Linked DNA regions of Homo sapiens: all the other regions are linked to region 1. The links are contacts of gene promoters, found by promoter capture Hi-C in human tissues and cell types (Jung and others, 2019). All regions are on one chromosome and are shown on one strand. The core of a region is centred on a gene start or on the middle of the fragment in contact, and the rest is flanking DNA. Distances in the headings are between cores, read along the strand shown. Region 1 holds the start of MLNR (motilin receptor). Region 2 overlaps FNDC3A (fibronectin type III domain containing 3A). Region 3 overlaps CAB39L (calcium binding protein 39 like).

Evidence for each region. Contacts are between HindIII fragments. The study calls those that stand out against the background at their distance.
Region 2: a contact is called between a fragment that was not itself captured here and the fragment with the promoter of MLNR in region 1, in 2 of the 25 tissues and cell types used here (lymphoblastoid cells and spleen).
Region 3: a contact is called between a fragment that was not itself captured here and the fragment with the promoter of MLNR in region 1, in 1 of the 25 tissues and cell types used here (aorta).

The regions. Positions count from the first base shown.
Region 1 is chr13:49,218,266-49,221,949 of GRCh38, forward strand. MLNR (motilin receptor) reads left to right here and starts at 2,073. Exons shown (of 2, transcript NM_001507.1): 1 at 2,073-2,973. The coding sequence starts at 2,073. RefSeq lists silencers at 1,503-1,759, 1,696-1,955, 2,026-2,105. The HindIII fragment of the contact is 10,157 bases long and covers 1-3,684 here.
Region 2 is chr13:48,980,044-48,983,727 of GRCh38, forward strand. The region is part of intron 1 of FNDC3A (fibronectin type III domain containing 3A); the gene reads left to right. Among named protein-coding and RNA genes, the nearest start is that of FNDC3A, 6.0 kb to the left of the region's middle. The HindIII fragment of the contact is 3,386 bases long and covers 332-3,684 here.
Region 3 is chr13:49,430,076-49,433,759 of GRCh38, forward strand. It overlaps CAB39L (calcium binding protein 39 like), which reads right to left. Exons shown (of 11, transcript NM_001079670.3): 3 at 3,243-3,318. Among named protein-coding and RNA genes, the nearest start is that of CAB39L, 12 kb to the right of the region's middle. The HindIII fragment of the contact is 3,113 bases long and covers 462-3,574 here.

The DNA.
Region 1 (3,684 bases), core at 823-3,322:
GTCGAGGGCGTCTGTGTGGGAGTGATGGCGACTGCCCGTGGAATTTACGTTGGGTAAAGGAAGAAAGTGAAGACCTGGGGCAGGCAAGGGACCGGGAAAAGGAAGGAGGAGCCAGCGATGGAGGTCGCAGTGGGTTGAAGGATTACCGGAACTGAGGTGCTAGGGGAAGAGAGCTAAAAAGAGAGCGGGCGGAGGTCAGAAAGAGGGCTGACTGAAGTGGAGGTGGAGGAAGGCTGGCAGGCAACCGTGAGGTGTAAGTTCCGTCGACAGGCGCGGCTGAGATCGGGTGGAGAGCAAGGTCATAGGTGGAAAGGAGGTCAACAAACTAGAGGCCAAGGCATTCCAAGACTCGGCATGGGTGTGAACGGCCGCAGATGCAGTGCTTCAAAGAGAGCGCAGGCACCTGTCCCTCAGGGACTACGGGTGACCACGGAGGAAAGCGCTAGGGAGGGCGGTTTTAGGACCGCTGGAAACAGCAGCGATGAGGGAGGCGACAGGTGTCCCTCCTCCAAGCTCACAGTCTGCATGTGAGAGAGAACTGCAGGAGAAGCTTGCCCTAGGCAAAGCCAGGTGTCAGGTCCAGAATCGAGACTCCAGAGAAGAGGTTGAGGATTTAAGCCACTGAGGGGGTGGAGCTGGGCAGTGAGTAGGACGTCAGGCTTGCAAGCTCTGGGATTAGGCCGACCAGAGCCCATATCCCAGTCCCGCCTCTTACTGCCTGCTTGATCTCAAGCAAGACCGCTTTGTTCATGGGCGAAAGGAGCGCCCCGGGCCATGAGGATTAAATGGAGAGCACAGGGCCAGATCCATCTAAATTCTCAGTAAGTGTTAGCTATTGTTATTAAGACCACACCGAACAGACTGAACATCCGTTTTAGCCCCTTTCCCCAATTTTCGTTCTTTCCGGTGTTGACAAATCCTCTAGTTTTTTAAGTTTATAAAACATGTTGTACATAAGAATGACATATCACATGTGAAAGTACTCTAGTGTCCACGTAAATATTTGTCTTGTTCTTTATAATAAGTAAACATGCTCACGGATCCTTGAAATTATCTGGTCACTGCCGGGCGCGGTGGCTCACGCCTGTAATCCCAGCACTTTGGGAGGTCGAGGCGGGTGGACCACCTGGGGTCAGGAGTTCGAGACCAGGCTGGCCAACATGGCGAAACCCTGACTACACAAAAAACACAAAATTTAGCCGGGGCTTGGGCGCTCCTGTGCTCCCAGCTACTCAGGAGGCTGAGGTGGGAGGACTGCTTGAGCCTGGGAGGTCGAGGCTGCAGTGAGCTGTGATCGCGCCACTTAAACTCCAGCCTGGACGACAGTGAGACCCTGTCTCAAGAAGAAAAAAAGAAAGAAAGAAAGAAAAAAAGAAAAAAAAGAAATTATTTGGTCAATTATATGGTCAGCTCCCTCCACCACTCGCGAATTTACAGAAGAGGAGAACTGGGCTGGGCGAGACCAGGACTAGCCCAAGATTACACAAGTTACTCGGTTGTAGAGCCAGGATTAGACAGGAGAGGCTCTAGATTCTGGTCTAGACTCCCCTCCTATTATTTAGCATTATGGCTTCCTGAGGATTACCATGAGCCCTCCTCCACCGTCAAGCGGCAGCTACCAGCCACCAGACCAGATCCCTTCGAAGGTGCCCGGAGTACCAGACTGACAAAAGCGCCCGTACAGTGCTCAGTCCTGTAACCAAAGCTGTCTAGGGTGCAGACATCGCTCACCGGACCGGGTAGGGCTCGTGCGCTAAGGGCGCCGGGTATTCCAGTTAGTGGAGAGGGAAGCGCCCTGGAACTGCATGGGCCCGGGAGAGGGCGCGGGAGCGGAGCAGGGCCGGGCCGGGGCGGGCCGCGGCCGTGGGCGGAGACTGCGCGCAGCTAGCTCGGGAGCGCCTCGGAGCCCACCCCGCAGAGCCGCTTCTCGCGCCCCGCAGCGCAGCGCAGCGCTCCGCCGTCTGACCTGCCGCGCCCGCAGCGTGCGGGCTGGGAAAGGAGGCGCTCACCGAGAGGGACCACGCGCCAGGCTCCCAGCCCGACCCGGGACGCGGCGGCCGCGCGGAGCACCCATGGGCAGCCCCTGGAACGGCAGCGACGGCCCCGAGGGGGCGCGGGAGCCGCCGTGGCCCGCGCTGCCGCCTTGCGACGAGCGCCGCTGCTCGCCCTTTCCCCTGGGGGCGCTGGTGCCGGTGACCGCTGTGTGCCTGTGCCTGTTCGTCGTCGGGGTGAGCGGCAACGTGGTGACCGTGATGCTGATCGGGCGCTACCGGGACATGCGGACCACCACCAACTTGTACCTGGGCAGCATGGCCGTGTCCGACCTACTCATCCTGCTCGGGCTGCCGTTCGACCTGTACCGCCTCTGGCGCTCGCGGCCCTGGGTGTTCGGGCCGCTGCTCTGCCGCCTGTCCCTCTACGTGGGCGAGGGCTGCACCTACGCCACGCTGCTGCACATGACCGCGCTCAGCGTCGAGCGCTACCTGGCCATCTGCCGCCCGCTCCGCGCCCGCGTCTTGGTCACCCGGCGCCGCGTCCGCGCGCTCATCGCTGTGCTCTGGGCCGTGGCGCTGCTCTCTGCCGGTCCCTTCTTGTTCCTGGTGGGCGTCGAGCAGGACCCCGGCATCTCCGTAGTCCCGGGCCTCAATGGCACCGCGCGGATCGCCTCCTCGCCTCTCGCCTCGTCGCCGCCTCTCTGGCTCTCGCGGGCGCCACCGCCGTCCCCGCCGTCGGGGCCCGAGACCGCGGAGGCCGCGGCGCTGTTCAGCCGCGAATGCCGGCCGAGCCCCGCGCAGCTGGGCGCGCTGCGTGTCATGCTGTGGGTCACCACCGCCTACTTCTTCCTGCCCTTTCTGTGCCTCAGCATCCTCTACGGGCTCATCGGGCGGGAGCTGTGGAGCAGCCGGCGGCCGCTGCGAGGCCCGGCCGCCTCGGGGCGGGAGAGAGGCCACCGGCAGACCGTCCGCGTCCTGCGTAAGTGGAGCCGCCGTGGTTCCAAAGACGCCTGCCTGCAGTCCGCCCCGCCGGGGACCGCGCAAACGCTGGGTCCCCTTCCCCTGCTCGCCCAGCTCTGGGCGCCGCTTCCAGCTCCCTTTCCTATTTCGATTCCAGCCTCCACCCGCCGGTACTTCCCATCCCCCGAGAAAACCATGTCCTGTCCCCCAGGAGCTCTGGGGGACCCCAGGGCGCTTTGAGGGTGGGATCCCCGGATCCGATTCAGTAACCAGCAGTGCTTTTCCAGAGCCTCTGAGACCAGAAAGGAGAGTTGGTAATTCTTAATCCAACCACCTGTTAGATGCCACAGATGAGGAGTCCTCACAGTGCTCTTGAGAAGACGAGGGAGATTTCATTAAGCTAAAATTTTTTATTTAATGTTAAGTGATGCTGAAGGCTAAAGTAAACCTTGCTCGTATCAAAAAGTAAAGATTGTGCAGACCTGTTGTAGAATTCTTTTCAACAGAGAACAGAAAACTTGTCTCCGAAGTGGGTTTGTGGAAGGAAGCCTGCCAAGGCGGCTTGTTCAGAGAAATTGCTCCTTCTGGTTTATGTCCAGCCTTGATAACACATATGGGAGCCTACTATGCAGTTTTAAAGCAAGTATCCATGCAGCCTGCAGCCTGGTCATTTTTTCTGGGGTGAGGATCTGCCTAGGTAGAAGTTTTCTCTAATTTATTTTGCTGTTAC
Region 2 (3,684 bases), core at 775-3,274, 240 kb before region 1:
TATATATTTTTCCTTATGTTATCCTAAAAAAAAAGTATGTAGAAATAAGTGCTTCTGTAATTGTTATTTTGTGGCCAGACTTCTAACAAGAGCCTAGAATAGGTCTCAGAATTAGGAAGTGAAAGACGAAAAGCCTTTGAGTCAGGCCTTACTACAGTGAAAATAGCTACACAGTGGCTTGATTTAGAATTTGTATAAGGTTAGGTGTATCAACTGCCTGTGCTGGTTTTACATTTTTAAAAACAGCTGGCAGGTTAAAAACCTTGTCTAGGATGCTGGTGGTCTGTAAGTGACAACAGAGGAGCAGGCAGTAGGGATCTTTGTTTTTAGAAGTAGTCTAGGATGAGTTAATAAAGGGACAAGCAGTTGGACATTCTGCAGTACTCCAGAAAGAATCACTCTGTTATGGAACAGTCTAATAATTGATATTTACATTGATGAGCTTGAGTCATCAAGAAAAGATTATATCATGTGCACATTAAGGCACGGAAGAAAGACCTAGAGATCTCTTTACAAATAATTAAGATTTTTTTAAGATAAGTTATGGTGATTTAAAGGATATAAGTATCAGCTGTTTTGAAAAGTAATTTACATGAAACATCTCTGAAGTTTCTAAATTTATAGATATCTATTTCTAAGGCAGTTCTGTTTCCTTCAGTATACTGTGGTTCATGTGCCATTACCAGGTGAATAGTGATGCCTCACGCTGTGGCTGCACAAATCAATTGGCTGGGGCAACTGTATTTTTTGTGGCATCAAGAGAGCAAGAATACATCATGAGAGCATTTTTTCATTAAGCAGGCATCAGTACATTCCATATATCAGGGTTAGTATTAGGTGCTGGAAAAAGTACAGATGTATAAGATGGGAAGCAACCTGGACAGAATCAGTGATGCTTCTTTCTTCCTGTTAAAAACATTAAAACCAACCAAACAAAATCATGAAACTTAACTTTTGTACTTTAATTTATTATTAGCATTTTTCATACTTAGTACATACAGTACCGTAATTTTAAGGCAATATAAAGCTTTTGATTTAAATAACAGCCTTCATAAATTGCTACTTAATACAATTTTTACTTTTTAAATTTTAGTTTAAGGAGAAATTCATGCCCTCCCTCTTTTTTTGTGAATGCTTGAAACAGCTTCACCATGCCAGCTGTTTCCATTTGCTAAACAAGAGGTAAATTAAAGTACCTTGGATGGTGACTCAAAAGTCTAGTTCTTAGTTCTAACTTCACCACTTATTACCTATATGATTTTGGGTTAGTTTCTTGCAATCTTGGTTTTCTAAGCATTAAAATAGAGAATAATATCTATCCTGTTTTCCTCAAAGATATTGTGAGAACCCACAGAGATGTTGGAAACTATAAAAGCATTAAAATACATACCATAAAAGTGCTTACATTAATGCTACTATATTGGAAGCAATGCAGCCTTTTTTTTTTTTTAAGACCAGAGTTCAAGCTTTATCCTCCAAAGTTCTGTAAACATAGTATGTTTCCAGTAAACATTCAGTTGAGCTCATTGAATTTTAGAACCTATACTTGCTTATTTTTAAAATCCTATACAAACCTGCCAGATATGTGGTGGTATTCTCATTTTACAGATGAACTATACTTCTGATTGACTTCCATATCTCTTTCTCCTTCACTTCTTGAGATCTCTTATGTGCTAGTTGCTAGAAATACAAAGTGCAATGTATACTTTGAAGTAAGCCTTGGTGTAAAAGTTACCTAAGTTTGGTAAATTAGATTGTGTATGTTAATCAGCCTCTATCAGAAATGCTGGGGGAAAAAAAAGTGTTGTATCTGTTTTCTTTCCTCAGAATCCATATTTTAATATATATTTGAACTTTTAAAAACTTAAATGATTTCGCTTCACTACTTCTTCAGTGAGGGATTACTTTAATTGGTTTATGTATATTCTAAACCGACAGACACATAATTTGGGAGGCAAAAAAATCTTACTTCTCTAGGGGTTCTAAACAGATATTTAAGTACACTTTAAATCACAGTTTAGACTTTTATTAGAAAGTAATTACGTGCTTTGCTTTATAGAAGTATATGCCATATACAGCAACTACTTTTGTTGAGCCATAACTTGAAGGATTAGTCATTTCATTTACTTTAAAATCAGTTTTTCTTAAGATTTGCTTAAATAAAAAGTGAAAATTCATAATTTGCGATTTTATGTTTAAATTTTCTAAATTTTTTTTGTTTTCTTAAGACAGACATTCTCAATTATGTCTTTGTTCTTATGACTTGATTTTTTTCCATGTAATATTTTCATTTGTAATATATACCTAAAAAAAATTTTTAGCATAGTACCTTCATAGTTTATGAAGTACCTTTTTGTTTCTTTAGTAACTATTAGGATCAGCTTTTCCTGATGCTTCAGATTGGTATTCCTGAAATAGTATGTTCGCATTTTTGTTTTAATCACTTGAACCTTACTAAAACTGGCCTAGTGTGTGTGACAGAGTAGCCTTTGGGTAAAATGTAGGGGCTACTGCCCCTCTAACCATCTTTTAGGCTGCTTCCAGGATATTTAAAAAACATGAATTTATTCAGATCATTCCCCAGTTTTAGAAATCGAAATCACAATACAATTCCTGCTGCATTAATTATAATTTCCTTTGTCTTTGAGAGTCCATACTCTGTTGATATCCTATTGTGTCATCATTTCTTACCTCTTTACAACTTTGTGATATAGTGTAGAGAACATATTTCTCATTAGGCAGCCACAGGATTGTTAGTTGACTTCTCATACTGGCTGTATAGAAACATGAGTGTGCTACTTTACCTGTATGAGCCTTGGTTCGTTCATTTTACAGTGTAGTAATAATAGTAGCTATCTCCTAATATAGACTGTACAAGAATTAAAAGATCCTATTTAACATGACAAGTAAAATGCTTGCCATAGGATATTTATATCTAGAACTTTGACAGACATACCTAATCATTGTCACTCAGGCATCCTGCATATCATTCATTTATTCATTTGCCTATCATTTGTTGAACATTTAAAATGTCCTAGATACTTAGAATATGAATGTTGAATGTCACAAAAATGAATGTCACACTCCCTCCCCTTTAGAAATTTACAGAATGGGATGAGAGATAATGATATGTAAATAAATACATATTTTTAAATAATTAAAATATCTTGTGTCTTTTCACTTGTGTGAGTCCTTCCTGTCTTTTAATATTTAAATGCAAAATGTTTCCATAATACCCACAGAATATCTGGGTTGTATATATCATACTGTAATGTATATATATTTTTTACTTGTCTAAATCAGCTATTCAACTATGAACTCCTTGAGTTTGACCAGTACTACTGGAGTCAGCAACTTTTTTAATATAAGAGAAGGTAGTAAATATTTTAGGCATTGTGGACCATATGGGCTCAGTTGCAACTACTTAAACTGTGCTACAGGAGCACAAAAACAGCCATAGATAAATTATAAACAATGGGCATGACTGTGTTCCTATTAAACTTCATTTACGAAACTAGGCAGCAGACCAGATTTGGCCCACAGGCTTTAGTTTGCCAACCTCTGCAATGGTGCATGCATATACTTTTATTTGTGCTTGACAAATAAAAGGCACTTAGTAAATAATATGATTAATAGGCATTAAACACTTTCTGTATTCTGGGTGCTATTGCAAAAAACTTTATA
Region 3 (3,684 bases), core at 768-3,267, 210 kb after region 1:
TTACTAGCTGTCCAAAAAGTTGATAAACATGCTACCAGCTATAATACTTATTCTCCTTTTAATCAGCCTGGGGTTTATTTTGATCTATGATATTCAATTTAAATTTAGTTGCACAATTCAAAAATTGCACTTAACTAAAGATGCCCTTTTGCATGCTGCTAACTGCTATAGATAGTTGGGCGGATTAAGATAACCCAAATAATGTGGAACTACTATAAATAATATAAATGCTGTGAATTTAACTATAAAATTTGCCATAGGAAATCAGTAAGGCATACGTAAACATTACCTAAAAGAGACAAAACAGCTCCCAGACCCACACAAGGTGGCTATAACCTAATTGAAAGTGCTCTAACATTATCTATTTTAGAAGACAAATGGGTCATTCAGAAGGGGCACTGGTCAGCCACTGGCGTATAGGGCAGGGAAAAAAGTTACTGGGTTTTTCTCCTTTTTCAATTAATTCTTCCTACTAACTATACATTTCTTTTTTCACCAATCATTTTCAAGAGTTTTTTAGCTTCCTGTGCTTGTTATGTGGTACTCCCACTCTCCTTTATTTAGGAAGTTAATGATTTTAGTTATTTCTTATTTTATCCTAGAGACTAAACTTTTTCTCAAGTACACTCTAGGTGAGTTGTCTGGTCTCAGGGTCTGGATGTTTCTGATCTGGAGGTGAGACTGGTATCGACATGGCTGCCTAAGGCTATCTTTGCTGATGTTATCAAATCTTTGAAGCCTAATTCGTAATTCCTGTTAATACCGCAAGTGTCATACCTGTTCTCTTCCTATTTTCATAGAATTGCACTGAAAGGCTTAATAGTCATATAATCCAAATAGAAACTCAATCTGCAAGCCTTTCACATGAATTATTATCAAGACATGTTCCTCTATTCACTGTTTCTATTTTCTGGCTTTGTTTCTTTAAAAAGTGTTCTGTTAAGAAATAATTAACAATAAGCTGCACATATTTAAAGCGTACAACTCAAAAAGTTTGGACATATGTGTATTTACCTGTGAAACCATCATCACATCAAGATAGTGAACCTCCTAAATCTTTCCTGTCCCTTTGAATTCCTTTCCTCCCTTTCCTTGTTGTCTCCTCTGCATTTGATATGCTTCCATTGCAATACAGCACTTATATTTTTCAGAACTTTTAATAAGTGTAATATATTCTTTTTTGTCTGGCTTCTTTCACATAGCGTAATTGTTCTGGGGTTCATCCACTTTGTTACAAATATTGCTGAGGAGTATTCCATTGTATAGATATACCACAATTTTGTTATTCAATTACCTGTTAATAACTACTTTGGAAAACGGTTTTAGCAGCTTCTTAAAAAATAAAAAAAGGCTGGGCGTGGTGGCTCACGTCTGTAATCCCAGCACTTTGGGAGGTCAAGGCGGGTGGATCACTTGAGGTCAGGAGTTCCAGACCAGCCTGGCCACCATGGTGAAACCCCATTGCTACTAAAAATTAAAAAATTACCTGGGCTTGGTGGCACACTCCTGTAATCCCAGCTACTTATGAGGCTGTGGCAGGAGAATTGCTTGAACCTGGGAGGTGGAGGCTGCAGTGAGCCAAGATTGCACCACTGCACTCCAGCCTGGACAACAGAGTGAGACTCTGTCTTAAAAAAAAATAAAAAACAAAAAATAAAATAAAAAACAAAAAGTAAAAAAAATCTACCTACCATTCCATTCCCAGGAATTCACTCAAAAGAAAAGAATGCATATGTCCATATAAAAACTTATACATGAATATTCATAGTATCTTTATCTGTATTAGCTAAAAATTAGAAACAATTCATCTCCATCTACACAGCACAGATAAACAAATTGTGGTATATTCATAAAGTGACATACTACTTGGCAATAAAAAGGAATAAACTATTAATATACATTACAGACAATACAGATAAATCTCAGAATAACTAAGCTGAGTAAAAGCAGAACAAAAAAACGAGTATTTATTTCTTGCCAATTCTTTTTTTAATGTACCTGGTCACTTTATAGCCCCTTACTCTTTATTTATTTTATAATCCCTATTTTATTTATTGAACATATTAAACTATGTACATATATACATATTTAGACATACATACAAGCTCTTGATCTGTTGCCCAGGCTGGAGTGCAGTGGTGTGACCATGGCTCACTGCAGCCTTGACCCCCAGGCTCCAGCAATCCTCCCACCTCAGCCTCCTGAGGTACGCACCACCATACCCAGCTAATTCTATTTATTGTAGAGACAGGGTTTCACTATATTGCCCAGGCTGGTCTTGAACTCCCGGGCTCAAGCGATCCTCTTGCCTCAGTCTCCCAAAGTGCTGAGATTATAAGTGTGAGCTACTGCAACTGGCCATAAACATATTTATTTCATGTAATGTATATTTCTAATAATCGAAATCTCTATAGATCTCTTTCAGTTGTTTGCTGTTTCTGCTGACTCTTGCTCTTGGTGTTTTGATGTTTTCTCCCTTGTTACATTTTGTAATTTTAAAAAATGTGTATGAGCTTATTTGTTAGAATTTTAACTACAATTATTTGATGAATGCATTGATCGTACATTCCTCCATGGAGGATTTTTTTATTGTTCTTACAAGGTACCTGAGAGTATTACAGACTGAGGTCCAATTTAAATTAAAATCCTCCACTTGTGGAGTTTTAGAAACTGTAAAAATTGTGTAAATTAAGGCCCCAAATTCAAGTGAATGTGAGCTGATAACCAAGAATTATTAGGGAAGATTTTAAGTCTACCCAGAACTGAATATCTTTGCAAGATGGTCTCTGACCAGGCTTCTTACCTTTATATGGGACCCAGGGATCTTTTTCTCTAGTCCTCATCCTGCTCCTTACACAAAGCTTCAATGCCAACAGAAATCCATGGATGCCCCCAAAGTATTCAATGACTTCAGCACCTGCTTATCTCACAGGATATATTATACTTGTTTTGTTTCTAGCCCCAGAAAGTTTCCCTTATTTTCTTAATGGGCTCATCCATTCATGTTAAAGGATATTTTTTATACTGAATCTAGTACTTTACATGTTTGGTGGAGGGAGGAATTCAGGCTCTCTAGTCTATCATATTGCTACAAATCAGTCTACTATTTCTGCAACTGCTTTATAACATTTAAATACAATATTATATTTATTCCTGATACATTTTATTTTGGTATGTTGAGCATAGTCTACACGTCTGTCGAGAGCACTTAAAATCTTGATTGAGTCATCATACTAGCTTACCTTAGAAGTTGTATATCATTTGCAAATTTGTTTGAACCTTCTTAGCTTTCACCAAAGTCACTGATCACCACAGCTTCTGACAAAAAGAAAAGCTTTAAAATTAATTTTTAAAGTCTTTATAGTAAATCCAACATATTTTCTTATTGCTTTCAGGTATACAGAATTACAAATTAAATTTCCATCATAATCAAATACTAATACATCAAATTAAAACAGGTAAATTTTCATATCCCAATAACTCAAGTGGCAGACCTTTCAAACAGTAGTATTGAACTGAATGAAAAATATATTTATCATCAAGGGAAACCAGTGGAAACATAAAGCGTTAGTTTGGGTAAAGGGCGCTCTAGTACCTCTGAAATCTCCAACAGCCCCCATCTTCAAAAGGAAGAAACACAATTTATTTAAACTAGTATCTTAAAGGTCAGTGTTTACAAAAAGG